Regions from separate parts of the Homo sapiens genome. Here regions 1 and 2 are each linked to region 3. Evidence: promoter capture Hi-C in 16 types of primary human blood cells and fetal thymus (Javierre and others, 2016). All regions are on one chromosome and are shown on one strand. The core of a region is centred on a gene start or on the middle of the fragment in contact, and the rest is flanking DNA. Distances in the headings are between cores, read along the strand shown. Region 1 overlaps TMEM39A (transmembrane protein 39A). Region 2 has its middle 52 kb from the start of TEX55. Region 3 holds the start of B4GALT4 (beta-1,4-galactosyltransferase 4).

Evidence for each region. Contacts are between HindIII fragments. The CHiCAGO score rates a contact against its expected background, and 5 or more counts as called.
Region 1: a fragment that was not itself captured here is called in contact with the fragment with the promoter of B4GALT4 in region 3 in 1 of 17 cell types (activated CD4 T cells); the score reaches 5.7 in activated CD4 T cells.
Region 2: a fragment that was not itself captured here is called in contact with the fragment with the promoter of B4GALT4 in region 3 in 1 of 17 cell types (naive CD4 T cells); the score reaches 5.7 in naive CD4 T cells.

What each region holds. Positions count from the first base shown.
Region 1 is chr3:119,433,254-119,437,165 of GRCh38, reverse strand. TMEM39A (transmembrane protein 39A) reads left to right here. Exons shown (of 9, transcript NM_018266.3): 7 at 188-375; 8 at 2,284-2,404. Among named protein-coding and RNA genes, the nearest start is that of TMEM39A, 28 kb to the left of the region's middle. The HindIII fragment of the contact is 842 bases long and covers 1,597-2,438 here.
Region 2 is chr3:119,092,392-119,096,355 of GRCh38, reverse strand. It overlaps a transcript of IGSF11 not described here. Among named protein-coding and RNA genes, the nearest start is that of TEX55, 52 kb to the left of the region's middle. The HindIII fragment of the contact is 1,990 bases long and covers 723-2,712 here.
Region 3 is chr3:119,239,628-119,243,731 of GRCh38, reverse strand. B4GALT4 (beta-1,4-galactosyltransferase 4) reads left to right here and starts at 2,854. Exons shown (of 8, transcript NM_003778.4): 1 at 2,854-2,882. The region is part of intron 3 of B4GALT4-AS1 (B4GALT4 antisense RNA 1); the gene reads right to left. RefSeq lists silencers at 1,988-2,037, 2,688-3,167. The HindIII fragment of the contact is 11,429 bases long and covers 2,152-4,104 here.

The DNA.
Region 1 (3,912 bases), core at 768-3,267, 190 kb before region 3:
CAGCCAGAAAGTCAGGTTGAAGGATTGTGGAGGACTCTGCTCTTGAACTTTTCTGCACGGACAGCAGGACCACCAGTGCATGTGTGACTCAGTGTGGCATTTGTCTGCAGGGCATATGTACACCAACCCATCCCTGCCTCTTTTTACCAGTGCATGGATCATTTCTCTCTCTTCTGATCTCTTCCAGAGTACCCAGTACTATGACATGCGCTGGTCATGTGAGCACCTCATTATGGTGTGGATCAATGCTTTTGTCATGCTCACCACGCAACTGTTGCCATCCAAATACTGTGATTTGCTACATAAATCAGCTGCTCACCTGGGCAAGTGGCAGAAGTTGGAACATGGGTCCTACAGCAATGCTCCACAGCACATGTGAGTAAGCTAGAGGGTAAAACCATGTAACACTTTCTACATGCTGCTGATCATGTTTATTTGCTTTGTATGTCATTCTTGTTCTTGGCTTTGAACATTTAATTTTTAGTTTTTGTCTTACATGGATGCTTGTCATCATGCTAAACTGAATACAAGGGACATTAACTCATTTCCACCACCACCCCAGCTCCTTAAATGCGTTCTACCTTTCAGCTGCCCAGTCACTCTAGTGTGTGTAATTTGTCTCCCAAGCAATGCACTTGGCGTTCTCTTTCAATCTTACCCCTTTGCCCGAATTCAAAGAGTCATATATTTTATTTCTTTTTAGAAGACTTTAAGATTTGTCTTCTCATCTTCATTGCCACAGCTGAGTAGTTGCTAGCTATTCATCTCACACTTAGCTGGAATATGATTCTCTCATTTTTTCTTTCTAATACATGCAGTTTTGTTCTAGTAATTTTCCTTACCTGTACTTTTTTACTATTATTTTCTTTCTAAACTCTCTACTGAATATTTCCCTGCTTCTCCTGTGTTTAAGTGAGAACTGTGCCTGACTGAGTTCTTTGGAAGAATTTTTCTCATTGTGTCCCCCTTATCAGTCATTACTCCACATGGCTCCTATGATCCAAAATGGCTAACATTAGGACCGTTTTATTCTGTCACTTCTGAGTCCTTCATCATACTTTTCTTTCAGACCCAAACCATCTTCATCTTCCCCCTTTTGTAATTTGAACATTTCACAAATTTCATCTAGAAATTTTTCCCTAGTTAAGTGGGACAGATTGAGGTGACCTTCCCTTTCCCTCTCCCCCTGAGAGTTCTCCCTTCAATTATCTGCCTTGATGTCTGATACAGATTAGCACAGGCCTTCAAGCCCAGGAACTGAAAGAGATTGGGCCAGGCTGAAAAGAAACCCGACTGTGGGCAAAGGACAGATTTCAATAAAAATTGAAAATACAATCCACAGTACTAGTACTGTACATCTTCAGGCTACTGATGGCACATGGCCATGAGGTGTATCATCACTTTAATGCTGGTAAGTGTGAGCAAGGCCGGTGGAACATTTTCTGAACTGGGAAAGCTTTAGGGTGCTAGAATTTTTTTTTTTTTTTTTAATAACATATCTAAACTGCCTCCCAGTTCTTATCCTAGGAAACTAACCTTTCCAAAATCAGGAAGAGATGAATTAACTTAGATTTTTTTTTTTTTTTTTAAAAAGCTTAACCTGAAGATCCCTGTCCCCACCCAAACTCCATTATGCTGGAAAGAATGAAGCTGCTGCTTCTGTAACTTCTTTTCCCCCAGAGAAACCTCTATAAAAATAAACCATGAAAGCAGTGAAAAGTCTGTGTGTGTGTGTGAGATGTATCGCTGTGTTCTACTGTATATCTTCTTACAGTTGTGAGGTATTTGAATTGTGTGATAAGCAAACTGATTTCCTATAGTTTTTTGGGATGTAATTCTGCAGTAAATGTCATGCTAGATTGACAATGTGCTAATTTCTCCACTATTCTTATTACCATCAGCTTTCTCTTCTTGTTTGTTCCCTCTAGCATTTCCACCAGTAGACTCTGCTCACTTGGGATGGAGATGACAGTCACCCTGCTTACACACTGTTTTCTGGCTTACACATTTATGTCTGCTCATTCTTCTAAGCCTCTTAAGTCCTTTGACACTGAGTTAACTATATTTCTTTGCAACCTCTGTTTACTATATAGCAATGAAGTTAAAGTAACAAATCCTTTCTAAAACTACTCCAGTTTGACCATGGAATTACTGTATTTTCAGAATTCAGGCAGATGAAGCCTTGATTATTTAATTCCTTCCATAAAAATACAGCTGGCCTTGCCAGATGCTATCTTATCTGTAATTGCCAATATGCTAACATTGCATTTCTTTCTCCCTTAGTTGGTCAGAAAATACAATATGGCCTCAAGGGGTGCTGGTGCGGCACAGCAGATGTTTATATAGAGCCATGGGGCCTTACAACGTGGCAGTGCCTTCAGATGTATCTCATGCCCGCTTTTATGCAAGTACCGCTTATTTATTTTCAAACATAAGCTTAGGGGTAAGTGTTAGGAGGCCACTCTATGTGGAAGCATGTAGCATAGCATGTAGCACATACTAGGAAATTATTACATGGTAATTATTGCTACTAGCGTAACAGTGGTCCCTGTACTTTGGAAATGTCTTTTGAAGGGCAGTTTGAAGATCATATACTGTTATTCCAGTTTCAGTAGCTTAGCTGGTTTCTCTAGTTACATTGGTATTTGTCGAATCTAGTATTACTTGAAACAAGCAGGCAGTTATCTAAGACTCCTTTTTCATCTTACCATTTTTGTTTTGTAAGAGTTTGGTTTAGTGGTATTGTTAAGATATATTGTATCTGTGTATCCATAGTGACATTTAATATATTAATAGTGCGGTGGTTTTATTTTTAGGTATTTGTCATATATATTGTTTCTTTACAAAGGCTTTAGCTTCCCCTTTGGAAGTCAGACAAATGCCATGAAAAGGAAAAAAGCTTAAAAGTTAAAAAAGGAAAAAGCAATAGAAACCCACTACATTCCATTGAACTCATGCCTTCGGTTATGATCTATTTGGTCTTTCAGCCTTCCAGAAATTGTCTGTACAAGGCAAAAGTATATACTTATAAAAGAAAGGCCAGCTGACTAATGCAAGTGGGGAAAAGTAGGTGCCTGCAGGGGACTGTTTATAGTAAAAATGCCTATAGTGCAGTGCATTGCTTTTGAAAGGGGATCATATTCTAAACAAGAATTGGAGATCTTTTTTAAGATACTTGCATCTCTTTCTCCCTCTGTCCTTCTCAGTTCCTGTGAGGGTATATGGACTTTCTGGTTCTGCAGGTGTTTGTTATTGAGGGACACTTCAATTAAGTTTTGGGAACTTGCCCCTGGGCATGATGCTTATAAATACCATGGTAGGGGAATGCAGGGTGGGGCAGATTGGGAGGAACATGGGGAAGGTGGAAAGCCCTTGAGTGAGAAAACGACAAGCATCTCCTTCTTGACGCCAGTGGAAATGCCTTAAGGTGGAGGAAAGGACTTAAGTCACAAGTACATGAGCACTTGATTTCTATATAGAATATTTAATTCAGCCAGCTGAATTCTCTAGGCCATTAATGACTTCTGTTGGTCCTTGCTGTCTCCTTGAGACCTGTGATAGCGAAATAGTTCATTAGAATTTTCTGCTTGAAAATTAAGTAGTTTCCTTGCTAGCTTTGGACAGCTGAAAAATCGGGTGGAATCTATGGAAAAAAGATTAGGCAAGTTGATTTATTACTGATTTTGCAGGACTGGATAGACAGTTAAATCAGTGCTTCTCCAAGTGATCCATGGGCCACCTGCTGATAAATCACCTGGCCCACTATTTTTAAAAAGTGATTCAGGGCCCCTATATCAGACTTCTGAACCAGAATCTCTGGATGATCCCAGGAATTGGCAGCATTTGTGGATTTGGAAATGATTCTTAGGCACACTGAAGTTTCAAAACAGTCATTTAAAGTGTGCCTATTAC
Region 2 (3,964 bases), core at 468-2,967, 150 kb after region 3:
TATATATGTATGTATATGTGTGTGTGTATATATATATTCTACTTGAAGTCAGAGCCATGTTTCCCACTTCCACATGTATGTCCAAAAGCCTGGGCCATAAGGGGTAGACCAGTTAATAAAGACTTGAGGGTGAGTATGCCCACCAGTAGGTACCCTCCCATCAAGAAGAGTGCTTGAAAGCCAAGTCACTGTAACCATGATAGAGTTTACTCAATACATCCATTGTTTTCTTAGAGTTTCTACTAAGTACTAAACACTGTGCTAGGTAGTTGCTGGAGTTAAATATAAATAAATAAATAAATAAATAAAACAGTTTTCATCCTTAAGGAATTCTAAGTATACTTGAAAAGAAGGACATGCAAGTGGATAGTTAGAACATGATATAAGCTAAGTAAAAAATAAAGAAGTTTATAAGATGCAATCTTCCATGGGCCCTGAGTATCCCCATATACTCCTTCTGGGTATACCAAGAATGAAAGCTTCTGATTTATCTCTACCTAAGCCATTCTCAGGGTTGGGTTTGCAGTATGCAACCTTGAGGGTTTAGGTAACTTCTTCCCCCAAAGAATAGGCTTGCTAACTGTGAAAGTGCTGAATCTCCAAGTTTAGTGTTTCTCTCCTGTAAAGCAACCTACTGCATGTGTAGGCCATGGTCTCTAACTCAATGTTGTTTTTTTCTGTGAGACTTGGAGGATGTGAGGAACTGGCATGAACATGAAGCTTTGGCTACTACTTTTGCTGTAAGTAATGAAGTCCTTGGTCCCTATCTAGGAATCTCATGTCTTCTGCCAGGATCCATGAACAGTAATAGGTTAATTTGTTAGCTTGTAAGTAGAGTAAAATCCTAGACCCTTCATAATCCCTGACTGTACTCTGCCTTGGGAAAGTAAACTGATATTTTAGCTAAGACTTGAAGAGTGAATGTGGATTTTTAGGCTGACAATAAGGTCACCTGTACCATGTCAAGTAACAGAGTCAGGCAAGGCCACCCTGTGAATATTTTAGCTCTCTTGTTAATTCTGACCCTTGTATGTCTGCTTGGTTCATTGTTCAATTCTTGGAAATATTGTGTATATTCTCTTTGTGCAAGATTTTTTATAGTCTATGGTTATTAGTGTGGAGAGGGTATTAACAAAAACAAAGATTATACATTCTCAGATACGAGCATGAACCATCCCAAGTGTGTATGTATTAGATTCAGCTTCTTATTGTCATTTTTCAAATACCAACTTTGTTTGAGTTTTTACTTTGATACTTTTCTTTAGCTCATTTTTCAATGTGAAATTACTTTTCCTGAACTTTTGGAATAGGGTGGGTTTCAGGAAAGTTTTTCATAATATTACAGAACTCCTTCCTTTATGTGGTGTTAAAAATATAGAGACTTGTCCAGGCTCGGTGGCTCACGTCTGTAATCCCAGCACTTTGGGAGGCCGAGGCGGCTGGATCATCTGAGGTCAGGTGTTCGAGACCAGCCTGGCCAATGTGGTGAAAGCTCATCTCTACTAAAAATACAAAAATTAGCTGGGTGTGGTGGCAGGAGCCTGTAATCCCAGCTACTCGGCAGGCTGAGGCAGGAGAATGGCTTGAACCTGGGAGGCGGAGGTTGCAGTGAACCGAGATTGTGCCATTGTACTCCAGCCTGGGCGACAAGAGTGAAACTCAGTCTAAAAAAAAAAAAAAAAAATAGAGTTGCTCTCTGGGATTTTCTGGCTTTGTTCACCTACCCTACTTTGGTGTAGATATTCTTGTTCCTTTTTTCCTATTCTTTTCAATTTTGGTTGCACTCACAGCAGTTTCTCTCTTTGTTCCACCCTTCTGTAGCACTCCTAGCTCTTTTTTCAGGATTTCCTTCCTGGAAGACATGAACTGATAAAAGGATTCTGTTGTTACATCTGTCAGAAGGTGCCTAATTGCTTGTTATCTTTCCTACCAAAGAAATGCTAATACCATACAGGTTTTCTGGCTGTTAGTGGTTCACCACTACCCATGTGTATGTTGTGGTTTATAGGAGTACCTTGTTGTTCAATTAGTAAATGAATATTACTCATTTTTTGGTACAACAACCAAAAAATGAGTAATATTTATTTACTAATTGAACAACAACTTTTTTTTTTTTTTTTTTTTTTTTTTTTACTTCGCTATGTAGTCCTTCTTTCCATTTTATGTGGGGACTTGAAAAAATGGAAAAGGTATATTTCCACTCCTTCATCTTCCTGGGACCCATATTAAAATTTTTATCAACTGTAACTATTAATATCATTAGCTCGGCCAATATATTCCTGCTACATGTTATACCTCATGAGGTGATTTACCGAGATTCTGCACCTTTACGAAAATGTCTCTTAAAATCTCTTAAGATCATATTTTCTGATTGTATCTAGGCTATCTTCTGATCTTAATTGGATTTCTCCCTTAGAAGTGCTCATGTTGATTAGCTGAGATGTGTAAATACTCTTGGATATTCTATTTCTCATGATAAATTATCCATATATTCACTTCAAGTTAAGCCTTCTTTTGGGTCTACTATCTGTGCCACAGTATGAGTTGGGTACAAGAGTCAGAGAGTTGAATAAACCATAGACCCTACACTGAGAAAGCTCAAAGGCAAATGGTTTACTGGCATTAGGGACCTGTCTTTACCTCTGATGATGTCAGATCCCTGAAACAACCTCTGATGAAGAAAAGGAACTGAGCTTTTTGACTGTCAAAGCTTTATGAAAATATCTAGTGAACTTTCTGGAAGGTAGAGGGAAGTAAACTGCTGCTGAGCCCCAAATTAATGTGGAGGACAATACTTTGCTTTCGGTATTGACGTTGAAGATACCTCGTGGTTATTAAAGATTTGTCGTCCTAAAATGTGGCTGGGTACAGGCATTTACTGACATAAATTTTTCCTAAGAAGTGTTTTCAACCAGAGTAAGTTTAACGGTCAGGTTTAAAAAAAAAAAAACGGGTCTCAGAAGCCCATGTGTGTAAATGGCCAGCAGCTTCTTCGGGGAGTTCTCCATGGTAGTGTGTTTGGGTCAGAGCTCATTCCATTGATATGAAGCTGATGCAGTGTAATCCCTGGGAAGTGTCCAAAAAAGTACAGTGCTAATGATTGAAGGTAAAATACAGAAGTGTTGAAGGCGGACGTAGCTCAGCAATCTTTAGTGTCTTCTGTGAGTTAACACAGGGTGTGCATTGTTCGATAGGGCATTTTCTGTTATTCACACTTTAAATATACCTTTGTGTTTATTTTTTTGTGTGTGTTGATATCTTAATATACAATCATGTGTTACTTAATGACAGGGGTACTCCCTGAAAAATGCATTGTTAGATAATTTTGTCATTGTGCAAACATCATACAGTGTACTGACACAAACCTCGATGGGATAGTCTACCATACACCTAGGCCATATGCTCACACAAACCTAGATGGTATAGCCCTACTAAACACCTAGCCTATTGCTCCTATGCTACAAACTTGTATAGCATGTTACTGTACTGAGTACTGTAGGCAATTGTATCAGAATGGTAAGTATTAGTGTATCCAAACATAGAAAAAGTACAACAAAAATATGGTATAAAGATGAAAAAAATGGTATATCTGTATAGGGCACTTAACATGAATGGAGCTTGCAGGACTAGAAGTTGCTCTGGGTAAGTTAGTGAATCAGTAGTGAGCGAAAGTGAAGGCCTAGGACATTACTATACACTACTGTAGACTTTAGAAACACTGTACACGGCTGGGCACAGTAGCTCATTCCTGTAATCCCCGCACTTTGGGAGGCTGAGAGGAGTGGATCACCTGAGGTCAGGAGTTCAAGACCAGCATGACCAACATGGCGAAACCACGTCTCTACTAAAAGTACAAACATTAGCCAGGCATGGTGCCACATGCCTGGAATCCCAGCTACTTGGGAGACAGGAGAATCTCTTGAACCTGGGAGGCTGAGGTTGCAGTGAGCCAAAATTGCGCCAC
Region 3 (4,104 bases), core at 1,605-4,104:
CCTACCAGCTACCAAATATAGAAAAGCTGAGTGATTCTTTTTTTTTTTTTTTTTTAGATTAACTTGCTTGGCTCCTTTATTATTCTCCTTTATTATTAAACTTCCTCAGCATAATGTGATTTGGGCAGACAGAGATGTTATCCTGTGGCTTATTGTTGGCCTACATTCTCTTTTTTTTTTTTAAATTTATTTTTTTTTTAGTATTTATTGATCATTCTTGGGTGTTTCTCGGAGAGGGGGATTTGGCAGGGTCATAGGACAATAGTGGAGGGAAGGTCAGCAGATAAACATGTGAACAAAGGTCTCTGGTTTTCCTAGGCAGAGGGCCCTGCCGCCTTCCGCAGTGTTTGTGTCCCTGGGTAGTTGAGATTAGGGAGTGGTGATGACTCTTAGCGAGCACGCTGCCTTCAAGCATCTGTTTAACAAAGCACATCTTGCACTGCCCTTAATCCATTTAACCCTTAGTGGACACAGCACATGTTTCAGAGAGCAGGGGGTTGGGGGTAAGGTTATAGATTAACAGCATCCCAAGGCAGAAGAATTTTTCCTAGTACAGAACAAAATGGAGTCTCCTATGTCAACTTCTTTCTACACAGACACAATAACAATCTGATCTCTCTTTCTTTTCCCCACATTTCCCCCTTTTCTATTGGACAAAACCGCCATCGTCATCATGGCCCGTTCTCAATGAGCTGTTGGGTACACCTCCCAGACAGGGTGGTGGCCGGGCAGAGGGGCTCCTCACTTCCCAGACGGGGCTGCCGGGCAGAGGGGCCCCCCACCTCCCAGACGGGGCGGCGGCCGGGCAGAGGGGCCCCCACCTCCCAGACGGGGCGGCGGCTGGGCAGAGGCGCCCCCCACCTCCCGGACGGGGCGGCTGGCCGGGCGGGGGCTGCCCCCCACTTGCCGGGCGGGGCGGCTGGCCAGGCGGGGGCTGCCCCCCCACCTCCCGGGCGGGGCGGCTGGCTGGGCGGCTGCCCCCCACCTCCCGGACCAGGCAGCTGCCCGGCGGAGGGGCTCCTCACTTCTCAGACAGGGCGGCCAGTCAGAGACGCTCCTCACCTCCCAGACGGGGTGGCGGCGGGGCAGAGACACTCCTCAGTTCCTAGACGGGTCGCCGCCGGGCAGAGGCATTCTTCACCTCTCAGACGGGGTGGTGGGGCAGAGGCGCTCCCCACATCCCAGATGATGGGCGGCCAGGCAGAGACGCTCCTCACTTCCTAGACGGGGTGGCGGCCGGGAAGAAGCGCTCCTCACTTTCCAGACTGGGCGGCTGGGCAGAGGGGCTCCCCACATCCCAGATGATGGGCGGCCAGGCAGAGACGCTCCTCACTTCCTATACGGCGTGGCAGCAGGGCAGAGGCTGCAATCTCGGCACTTTGGGAGGCCAAGGCAGGCGGCTGGGAGGTGGAGGTTGTAGCGATCCGAGATCAAGCCACTGCACTCCAGCCTGGGCAACATTGAGCACTGAGTGAGCGAGACTCCGTCTGCAATCCCGGCACCTCGGGAGGCCGAGGCTGGCAGACCACTCGCGGTCAGGAGCTGGAGACCAGCCCGGCCAACTCGGCGAAACCCCGTCTCCACCAAAAAATACGAAAACCAGTCAGGTGTGGCGGTGCGCGCCTGCAATCCCAGGCACTCGGCAGGCTGAGGCAGGGGAATCAGGCAGGGAGGCTGCCGTGAGCCGAGATGGCGGCAGTACAGTCCAGCCTCGGCTCGGCATCAGAGGGAGACCATGCAAAGGGGAGACGAGGACCGTGCAAAGGGGGGAGGGAGATGGGGAGGGAGACAGAGAGGGGGAGGGGGAGGGGAAAAGCTGAGTGATTCTTGCAAAAGGTATATATTATGCTTCCAGGCATCATATGCTCAAGACCTGGGGACTATGTGGGTATAAGTAACTGATTGTATAACGCCACTGGATGAAATCCAGTAATGTCCTTTTTCACTAAATGTGGTTATACACCCTTACAGCATGTTACAAAGGGAACACAAAAAAATAAGTTTCACACTGGACCTTGTTCAGGAGCAGTGTTGACCTATTTCACTGACCTATCCTCAACTGCCACTAGGTGGCCCTCTTTTCCAGCTTCCAAGGGCCTACATTGGGCCTATGCGGCCTCAGTATAGCCTCAGATTTCCTGCTATGAAGCTTAATGAGCCCAGCACTGGCTCTAGCTATGGTTTGTTCCTTTTTGGGTGGAGTGGATGTGTGGTTCTTGGAGAATCTACTACTTTCCCGTGAGTGCAGTGGGAGACTGCATTAGAGAATCTAGCTATCCTGACTGCCTAAACAGAGCCTACCATAATTTTTCACTCAAATCTTTAGTGTAAATATAATTGTCTTTGCTTTCTGTAATAATATCTTTGAAGAAATACGGATTTAAAAAAATCATTTAATATTCTCAGACCTGCAACATGGGAAAAATATTATTATTATTATTATCATTTTTGCAGTTGAGAGGGCTGAAATCTCGCAGGGTGATTAAGTTTATTAGCCTCTCTAAAGTCTCAGTTTCCCACTCTGTAAAATGGAAGGGTCCCTATCTCTTTCCTACTGCTTTGTGAGTATTTAAGGGGATGGAATTTGGGAAGCGCTCAGCACCCAGTCTACTATTGGCACAGGGTTTTAAAGCCACCCAGAGGCCGAGGCGTCAACCCTCCGTTTCCCTCCCGGTGCTCCTTCCAGCGCCCGGTGTGGTCGATTTGGCGGGGGTGGAGCGCCAGGCGCGTGCAGAGCCGGGCGGACCAGCCTCTCCGGCCAAGGCGGGAGGCGGAGCTCGTACTCAAGAGCCGCCTCCCGGGCGGCTGGGGCGGTCCCCGAGCTGCTTTCCGCGTTCTCCCCTCTCCGCGGGCAGTGCTAGCTCGCCGCGGCCGCCTCCGGGGTGAGTACGCTGGCTCCGCCGGCGCCCGGGAAATGCAGTTCCCTGGACACGGGCGCCGTGCGAGGGTAGCCGGGCGACGGCCGGGGTCAGTCCCAGGGCTGTAGCGGGGCGGGCGTGGGGATGACGTGGCGGCGTCCGTGGGGCAGTCCCGCCTCAGCCGGAGCGGTGGGCCGGGCCGGGGGCCTACGGAGGCCGAGCCTGGCGGGAGGCACCGGCTCAGGTGCTGGCGTTCCGCGCGGCGCCGCCTCTGCTGCGGGCCGGGGGAGCCAGACGAGGTGCTGCCGGGTAGGAAAAAATCCAGGGCTCATTCATACCCCAGGTCACGATTCCGGGGTCGCCCCCAGCACTTCTCCGCCGGGTGCATCAACCTGAAAAAGCCCCTTCTTCCTGGAAACCCTCCTTCTCCAGCGTTTCAACGGGGAAACTGATCAGCTGACACCAGCCCCAGTCCTGCGAGGGGCCGGCGACCTTTGACCTTTCTCCAAAGGGGTTGGTCACCTGGATTATAAAAGACTTCGGAGACAGCCATCCAGTGTTTGTTGATCTGTATCCCTTGATGTTCTGTCTTCCATTAGATAAGGGCTGTTAATTCTTGGTTTGAAAAAAAACAGACAAAGTCCAAAGGACTCTGCATCGAGGAGAGGCCTATGGGTTGGTAGCCTTAGGAGAGTAGTTATCAACAGTGGGTGGGTGTGCACACTGTTGCAAAGTGTTCCAGAGTGGGTGAGGGATGGGGACGTGGCGGTGGTGAGGGTACTGGTAGACCTCCTCAGCCGTTTGGTGATGAAAAGGAGGAAAAAGAAAATGGTAATCTGAGCGTGGAGGCGAGTTGTGGCTTTTTTTTTTTTTTTTAAATTTTTAAAGAAAGGAAAATAACACCTTTAAGATGCAAGAAAATCAAGGAGAGATCAGGATGAATAGGATTCAGGGTCCGGATTGAGAAACTGGGATTCAGAAGGGAGGGCTATTCCCGAGACCCAGGCGGGGAGTGCTGGAAGGTCTCTCTTGGGAGAGGAGATAATGCTTGATTGGATATAGTTCAGAAGTTTTTGGAATTTTGTCTTCTAGAGCAGGTTTGTTCTTTATGGAAATTGTAAACCCCATGAAATTGCAATAACTTTCGTCTACCTATAGCTTTGATCAGATTGAAAACATACGTTGTGAAAAAGTACTGACCTGGATTGAACTGTTTGACTACATAATCTAAGGGGAAGTGGATAGA